2 separate regions of the Homo sapiens genome follow, and region 1 is linked to region 2. Evidence: promoter capture Hi-C in 16 types of primary human blood cells and fetal thymus (Javierre and others, 2016). All regions are on one chromosome and are shown on one strand. The core of a region is centred on a gene start or on the middle of the fragment in contact, and the rest is flanking DNA. Distances in the headings are between cores, read along the strand shown.

What was found. The method cuts DNA at HindIII sites, captures the fragments that hold promoters and counts their contacts. A CHiCAGO score of 5 or more calls a contact.
Region 1: a contact is called between a fragment that was not itself captured here and the fragment with the promoter of KRT2 in region 2, in 6 of 17 cell types (naive CD8 T cells, non-activated CD4 T cells, naive CD4 T cells and 3 more). The highest score is 9.2, in naive CD8 T cells.

Annotation. Positions count from the first base shown.
Region 1 is chr12:52,976,740-52,980,642 of GRCh38, reverse strand. No RefSeq gene overlaps it. Among named protein-coding and RNA genes, the nearest start is that of EIF4B, 28 kb to the left of the region's middle. The HindIII fragment of the contact is 5,548 bases long and covers 1-3,903 here.
Region 2 is chr12:52,650,677-52,654,475 of GRCh38, reverse strand. KRT2 (keratin 2) reads left to right here and starts at 2,265. Exons shown (of 9, transcript NM_000423.3): 1 at 2,265-2,918. The coding sequence starts at 2,334. The HindIII fragment of the contact is 4,749 bases long and covers 1-3,799 here.

The sequences.
Region 1 (3,903 bases), core at 935-3,434, 330 kb before region 2:
TAATAAAACAAATGGCTATATTGATGCAGTGCCAGAAATAAAACAGAATAACTCAAACAGGTGCAGATCTTGCTATGAAATGCTTAAAGGGATAGGAGTCATTACAAAATGCTTAAAGGGATAGTTCAAGGGAGCTCTGCAGCCTCATCCCTTAACCTGCCCCCCTCACCATACAACTTGTTGCTATAAGTGTCACCCTGTCGCCATGGCTTTTCCTCCCTTCCTCTGTTCCCATACCTTCCCCATACTCATCAAGCTCCTTCTGTATACCAGAGCATTTAGCCAGAGCCTCGGAAGGTGAGGGAGAGATCGCTGATGAGGAGGTGGGAGGGAGCTAAGGGAGGAGTGTGTGTGTGGAGTGAATGGTGTGGCTGGAGGCTGGTCAGCAGGGGAGACTGCAAAAAGAGGAGCTGGAACACAGAGTCAGGGCACTGGCCATGGAGTCTGGATGCTTCCTGGGTCACGGAAGGGTTTTAAGTAGGTGAGGGATATTATGAGATCTAGTTTTATCTATTTATTATTTATTTATATATTTTTTAGAGGTGGTCTTGCTCTGTTGCCCAGGCTGGTCTCAAACTTCTGGGCTCAAGAGATTCTCCCACCTCAGTCTCCCAAGTAGCTGGGACCACTGGGCCTGGCACACATTTATTTTTATTTTTATTTATTTATTTTTTTGAGATGGAGTCTTGCTCTGTCACCCAGGCTGGAGAGTAGTGGCACCATCTTGGTTCACTGCACCCTCTGCCTCTTGGGTTCAAGTGATTCTCCTGCCTCAGCCTCCTGAGTAGCTGGGACTATGGGCACCTGCCACCATGCCCGGCTAATTTTTTTTTTTTTTTTGGTAGAGATGGGGTTTTGCCACATTGGCCAGGCTGGTTTTGAACTCCTGACCTCAGGTGATCCGCCCACTTTGGCTGGGATTACAGGTGTGAGCCACCAAGCCCGGCTGAGATTTATTTTTAAAGAAGACCATGTTGGCTGGTGTGTGGAGGAAGGCTGAGTGGTTACTGGTGGCCATGAGAAGACTTTCTGTTAGGAAGATGTTGCAGTGATAGTACAGAGGACAGATGCCTACAGCCTGGATGTGGGGTGTGGATGGGGAGAAAGGAATAGATTTGGACTTACTGTGGAAGTAGGGTTATTAATTTATTAGATCCATAGGGTAGACCAAGAGAGAAGGAGGTGTCAAATATGATTCCCAGGTTTCTGGCACAAGCAATTAGATGGATGGTGTGTCATTTACTAAGATGAACAAGAATTATGAAGCTGGTGGGAGCTAAGATCAATAATCCAGTTTTGAACAGGTTAAATTTGAGATGCCTAAGAGTCATCTAAAAAGAGGCATTAAGTAGAATATTCCATAGGCTGCTCTGGAGCTCACAAGAAAGGTCTGGTTGGACATCACAATCTGGAAGTCTTTGGTCTATAGAAGATGCAATTAAAACCAGGGCAAGGTATGAGATGACTCAAGAAAATAGTCCCTATTAATAAGAGAATAGGGGCCAGGACCCAGCCCTGAGGAACATCAACTTTATATCAGGTCAATTTATAGATCAGAAACATCAAGTTACAGACCATGTCAAGGAGGGTGAGTGGGGAAAAGGGACCGAGAAACTATAACTAGAGAAAAGCCTGGCACGAGGTGTCTGGGAGACTAGGAAGGAGAGTGTTTCAAGAAGGAGGGAGAGGCTGGGTGCTGTGGCTCATGCCTGTAATCCCAGCACTTTGGGAGGCCGAGGCAGGTGGATCACCTGAGGTCAGGAGTTCGAGACCAGCCTGGCTAACATGGTGAAACCCTGTCTCTACTAAAAATACAAAAAATTAGCCAGGTGTGGTGGCACACGCCTATAATCCCAGCTACTTGGAAGGCTGAGGCAAGAGAATCGCTTGAACCTGGGAGATGGAGGTTGCAGTGAGCCAAGATCATGCCACTGGACTCCAGCTTGGGCAACAAGAGTGAAACTCCATCTCAAAAAAAAAAAAAAAAAAAAAAGAAGGAGGGAGCATGCAGCTGCTGGAAGCTAAGTGGTCAAGGAACAAAAGGAATGTCAAGTGTCCATCGATTTCAACAACATGGAGGTCTCTGGGAACCTTGGCTAGTGCAGCTTCTGAGGAGCCATACGAGCTGAGCCAGCCTGGAGGGGCTGAAGAGTGAACTGGGTGAGGAAGGGGAAAGCCTGTGTGTAGACCTCTTTTGAGAATAATGTAAGGCCAGATGCAGTGACTCAAGCCTGTAACCCCAGCACTTTGGGAAGCCGAGGCAAGTGGATCACCTGAGGTCAGGAGTTTGAGACCAGCCTGACCAACATGATAAAACCCCATCTCCACTAAAAATACAAAATTAGCCAGGTGTGGTGGCGCATGCCTATAATCCCAGCTACTTGGGAGGCAGAGGCAGGAGAATCACTTGAACCCTGGAAGTGGAGGTTGCAGTGAGCCGAGATCGCGCCACTGCACTCCAGCCTGGGCAACAAGAGCAAAACTCTGTCTCAAACAACAACAACAACAACAACAACAACAACAACAAAACAACAACAAAACGAGAGAGAATGATGTAAGATGCTTAGCTATGAGAAGGAACAGAGAGCTGGCCAGGCGCAGTGGCTCACGCCTGTAATCCCAGCACTTTGGAAGGCTGAGGCGGGTGGATCACCTGAGGTCAGGAGTTCGAGACCAGCCTGGCCAATGTGGTGAAACACCATCTCTAGTAAAAATACAAAAATTAGCTGGGTGTGGTGGTGGGCACCTGTAATCCCAGCTACTCGTGAGGCTGAGGTAGGAGAATCACTTGAACCTGGGAGGCAGAGGCTGCAGTGAGCTGAGATCACACCATTGCACTCCTGCCTGGGTGACAGAGTGAGATTCCGTCTCAAAAAAAAAAAAAAAAAAAAAAGAGAGAAGGAACAGAGAGCTGCAAGGGAAGGTGGTCCAGGGAGCTTGTTTTCAGGTGGGCAACCCTGGAATTGTTGAGGGAGAGAAGAGAGAAGAGAGGGGGAGAAATCTCATGTGGGGGGGAGGGGAAAGGGTCAGCGGGTGGTATGAAGAGGGACTGGGTTCCAGACCTCTGCCCATGCTTTTTCCTCTACCTGTGATGCCCTTTCTGACCTCACTGCCTGCTCACCCTACAAGACAAGACTTTGTCTCTACCCACTCACAGCATGTTTAATAGCGGATCCTGGCTCTTACCATATGCTACTGAAGACAGAGACTATGACAGAAGTATAAGTCCCCCAGCACTGTGTCTGACACACATTTGGAGGACAGCCCGGGGCAGGGTGGGAGGTGAACGGTGAAGTGTCAGCACCCTGCCTGGACATTATGGTGGTGGAGTGAGGGCGATGTTTGAGGGGGTGAATGGCAGACTGACTGAGAGAATCTCAGCTGTTCCTCTCAGTGGCTCTTTCTAATACTTTTTAATTTTGTTTGTTTGTTTGTTTGTTTGTTTCCTGCAGGAGTGGAGCCCTGACAGTTCCCAGACCCTCTCACATACTCTCTCAAGGAATCCAGCTTAATGGATCAGCCCACTGTAGACAAAAAAACAGAAAACAGAAAATGGATCCAGAACCCAGACTCCCATCAGTCCCACCACATAGCCAGCAGGAGGTCAGGGGTGAGGGGGGCAGGCTGGGGTTTAGTGGGGGCCTGCATTCCTTTCTCTCTGCACGGCGGCAGGGCTTCTCAAGTATTCTCTAATTAAGATGAGAAGCAGAAGCAGGGGCTCTCTGGAATGTAAACAGCAGATAAGATCAGGCACCCTCCTCCCTGGGAAACTTCCATTTTCCTTCTTTTAGGATGGACACTGCATTCTTTCCCCGCTGCAGTCTTTGGCTCCCCAGTTCTTTCCATCCCCCCTCCCTCAGCCCTTGTCTCTGTCTTTGAGTCTCTGTCTGCATCCCTTATGGC
Region 2 (3,799 bases), core at 1,016-3,515:
CAATAGCTCGATGTCCTTGTGGGACAGTAGGGATTCAGGATAAATATTCCTATTTTATAGATGAAGAAATTGAGGATACCAGTTGCGTAGAGGCAAAATCACAACCAGACCAAGATTCTTAACTTCCATTTCACTCTCTTAAAGAATGCAAAGCATATTATCTAGGAAAGCACATTGAGATTATGTAAAAGTTGAAAATTTAAAAATATAGAAATAAAATGTTACATAATATTCAAATTGCATTAATTCTAGTCTCCACATTTCAAAAGAGTAGGAGGACTCTTTCAACTTGACTTTCAAAAATTGGTGAATGGGTCTAGAAGGAGAAGATGTTCAGTGGAGAGAGTGGGGAGGGAGACCAGGGTGTGAGGGCAGAATTAAAATGCAGTAAAACATGCAGATTGGGTGCCTAGCACAAATCTGGCTCAATTTCCTTCATAGAGGCATTAAGACCCCCCTGAAGCTGCCATAGTGTGAGCACAGTCATGGTGGAGTAAGGGACGACTAGGGCATTGCTCAGATATCTGTAGATAATGACACATTTTGCTTTGGATTGAGACTGTCTCCAAAGCTGTTAGCTTCATGATTTGTTTGCATGATTATAATTATGCAAACCAGATTGGAAAAAATAATTGAGGAGACATGTAGCTTTGTTTCCTTCAGCATTCTTTTACTGCAAATTAAATACCTTGAATAGTAGTTAAGACAGGATTGGAAACTTGGCGGGGAAGATGCAGAAGGGTGAATAGCATTTATTGAGTTTCTGCTATGAACTAGGAACTGTGTTTAGCACATGTGTGTATTGTTCTGTTTTCACAGTAGCCATATTCTTATTATTCTTGTTCACTTTTTATAGATGAGGAAACTGAGGCTTGAAGAGGATTATGGATTATCTGAGGTCATTTAACTAAGATACAAGAAAATTGGGATTTGACCTCAAACTTATGTTTTTTACATTATTTTGTGATAACTTGGTACTAGGATCTGAACCACCTGGTTCTGTAATTTATGATGCCTGTGGAGAGTGCATGTTCATAGTAGCCAGAAGACAGTAACATGGCAAGGGGGAAAGGAAAAGGAATTATCTTTGTCTCACCCCAAACAATAATGATACTGACATTTTATTGTGCACGGTGGTTTTCAAAACACTTCATACGAATTTCCCATTTTATAGCTGGGACCACAGAGCCTCAGGGTTTCATTCAAGGCCTCACAGCCAATAAATAGCAAAACTGGGACTCAAACCCAGAATTTCTGACTAAATTCAGTTTTATTACTCCAAGAACCTCTCCCACATAGTTGGCCACATGGACAGAGGAAGTGGTTGAGTTTAAGTGTGAGTGCTCTGTGCAGGCTGGATGGTCTTCTTATCCTCAAGCATCTGTGGATGTCATTGAAGAGCCTGACTTCCTAATCACTTCCCAGGATCACCAGGCAATACGTGATTACTGACTGACTGAATCAATATACACTTGGATCTTGGTTTGCAAACTTTCACTTGGTGTCCCGCATCACACAGGTCCAGAAACAGCGAAACTTTTCTCATACCTCTCAACCTCTGGGTGTTCATGTAGACAAGGGACAGTTGATGGTTATACAAACCATCATGGTTATAAAAAATCTCTATTCGGTGCCTAGTTATTGTGTATTTTTGGTGTGGCATGGGAAGAAAAGAGCCAAGATATTTTGAAAATCGACACCTCTTTTGCAGTATCCGAGGCCAATTACTTTCTGTAAGAGGAGGTCGATTTCCAATTAGCATTTAAGGTCATTTAAGACCTTTGCAGTCTCCCCTGCACTAGTTGGGGCTCTTTCTGGGAAAGAGGGAAACTACAAGAGAACTACAAGGCTGGCATTGAGGGGCTCTTGCAGTCTCTAAACCCACCATCCCTTTCATTGTTGAACTGGGGTGGTGAGCCTGCACAAGCATGGGTGGTAGCTGACTTCCCTTGGGCAGGTCCAGAACAGGGAGCAGCATTCTGCAGAAGGTCCTTTTCCAGATTGAGAAACCCAAACCCTGATCTCCTCTTTTGATGATTTTACAAAAATCAAATTGCATGACAGATGCCCAGATAAACAGAAGTTTGCAATCAAAGCAAGTTCTGGGATGGAGCTGATTAGTAGATTTTTAATGGCTATTAGCTTGATAATCACGCACCAGGAATAGCTCCCAGGCAGACCAAACCCACGTATAAGTGGATCCACACCCATGTACACAACACCTAGTTGGCAGGTATATAAGGGGACCCTGAAAGCCTCCCAGCAGCACAGTTGAGTCTCCAGCCTTGACTCTTCTCAAGAGCCTGTGACTTTCCTCCCTGGACAAAGGCATCATGAGTTGTCAGATCTCTTGCAAATCTCGAGGAAGAGGAGGAGGTGGAGGAGGATTCCGGGGCTTCAGCAGCGGCTCAGCTGTGGTGTCTGGTGGAAGCCGGAGATCAACTTCCAGCTTCTCCTGCTTGAGCCGCCATGGTGGTGGTGGCGGGGGCTTCGGTGGAGGCGGCTTTGGCAGTCGGAGTCTTGTTGGCCTTGGAGGGACCAAGAGCATCTCCATTAGTGTGGCTGGAGGAGGTGGTGGCTTTGGCGCCGCTGGTGGATTTGGTGGCAGAGGAGGTGGTTTTGGAGGCGGCAGCAGCTTTGGAGGTGGCAGCGGCTTCAGTGGTGGTGGTTTCGGTGGAGGCGGCTTTGGTGGAGGCCGCTTTGGAGGTTTTGGGGGCCCTGGTGGTGTTGGAGGTTTAGGGGGTCCTGGTGGCTTTGGGCCTGGAGGATACCCTGGTGGCATCCACGAAGTCTCTGTCAACCAGAGCCTCCTGCAGCCTCTCAACGTGAAAGTTGACCCAGAGATCCAGAATGTGAAGGCCCAAGAGCGTGAGCAGATCAAAACTCTCAACAACAAATTTGCCTCCTTCATTGACAAGGTGACTCTGGAGAAGACGGCTCCCACTGATGCTCAGGCCACTTCACTTCCAGAGCCAACCAAAAAGAAAATGGCACAGATTTGTATTTCTTAGGAGCCAGTGGTGTACCGCAGTAGCCTGGGTCATTTGCGGTTTCCAGATGGAAAAGACGCCAGCTTTGTGGGTTACATTTCCCATAACAGCCTGCACTTAGGAAGCATTTGTCCCTTTGACCTTATTGTTACAGTCCATATAAATAATATTTATGGAAAATTCTGAAAACCATAAAAAATGGATATAGGCAAGTATTGAACTGATCCTTGGGACAGGCCACTGGAGCAGCAGGTTTTGGAAGCCATCGTCTTCTGAGATAGTGTTTCCTTCCTTAGCAGTGATTACTAAACTCTGGGAAGCTGAACCTGAAATATCTGCTTGGGAATGCAGGAAATTCCTGCCTTCAAGAGAAGCGTTCTCAGTTTTGTGATCCATAAAGTCTTTATTGGTGTCACTTCGGAGTGTTACTGGCTTTTCTCCTATTTCAAGGCAGACGAACCTGTCTTGGTTTATCTGCCTTGAAATAGGCAGGGATTTACAAGGCTCTTAAAAATCAGGCTGAGGAGCCCTGCCCTCTGGGACTCTCATACTCAGCACCCTTGCGAGCAGTGCCAGCAGATGGCTGCTTTCGGTTTTCCCCAGAATTTATGGGATCTTGGCTGGAAATTCAACCAGGATGCGGGGAGGGAAATGGTCTAGAGTATTGGGAGCAGCTGCAAACAAACCAGTGAGCAGTGAAGCAGCAAAGAGTCTCCTCTGCGTGGAGAGAGCCGGATGTAGCATTAGGAGTCTGTGGGACTTTCCAGGGGCGAAAGCAGGGAGCTCAGAAGCTCTGCCAGTCATGACTC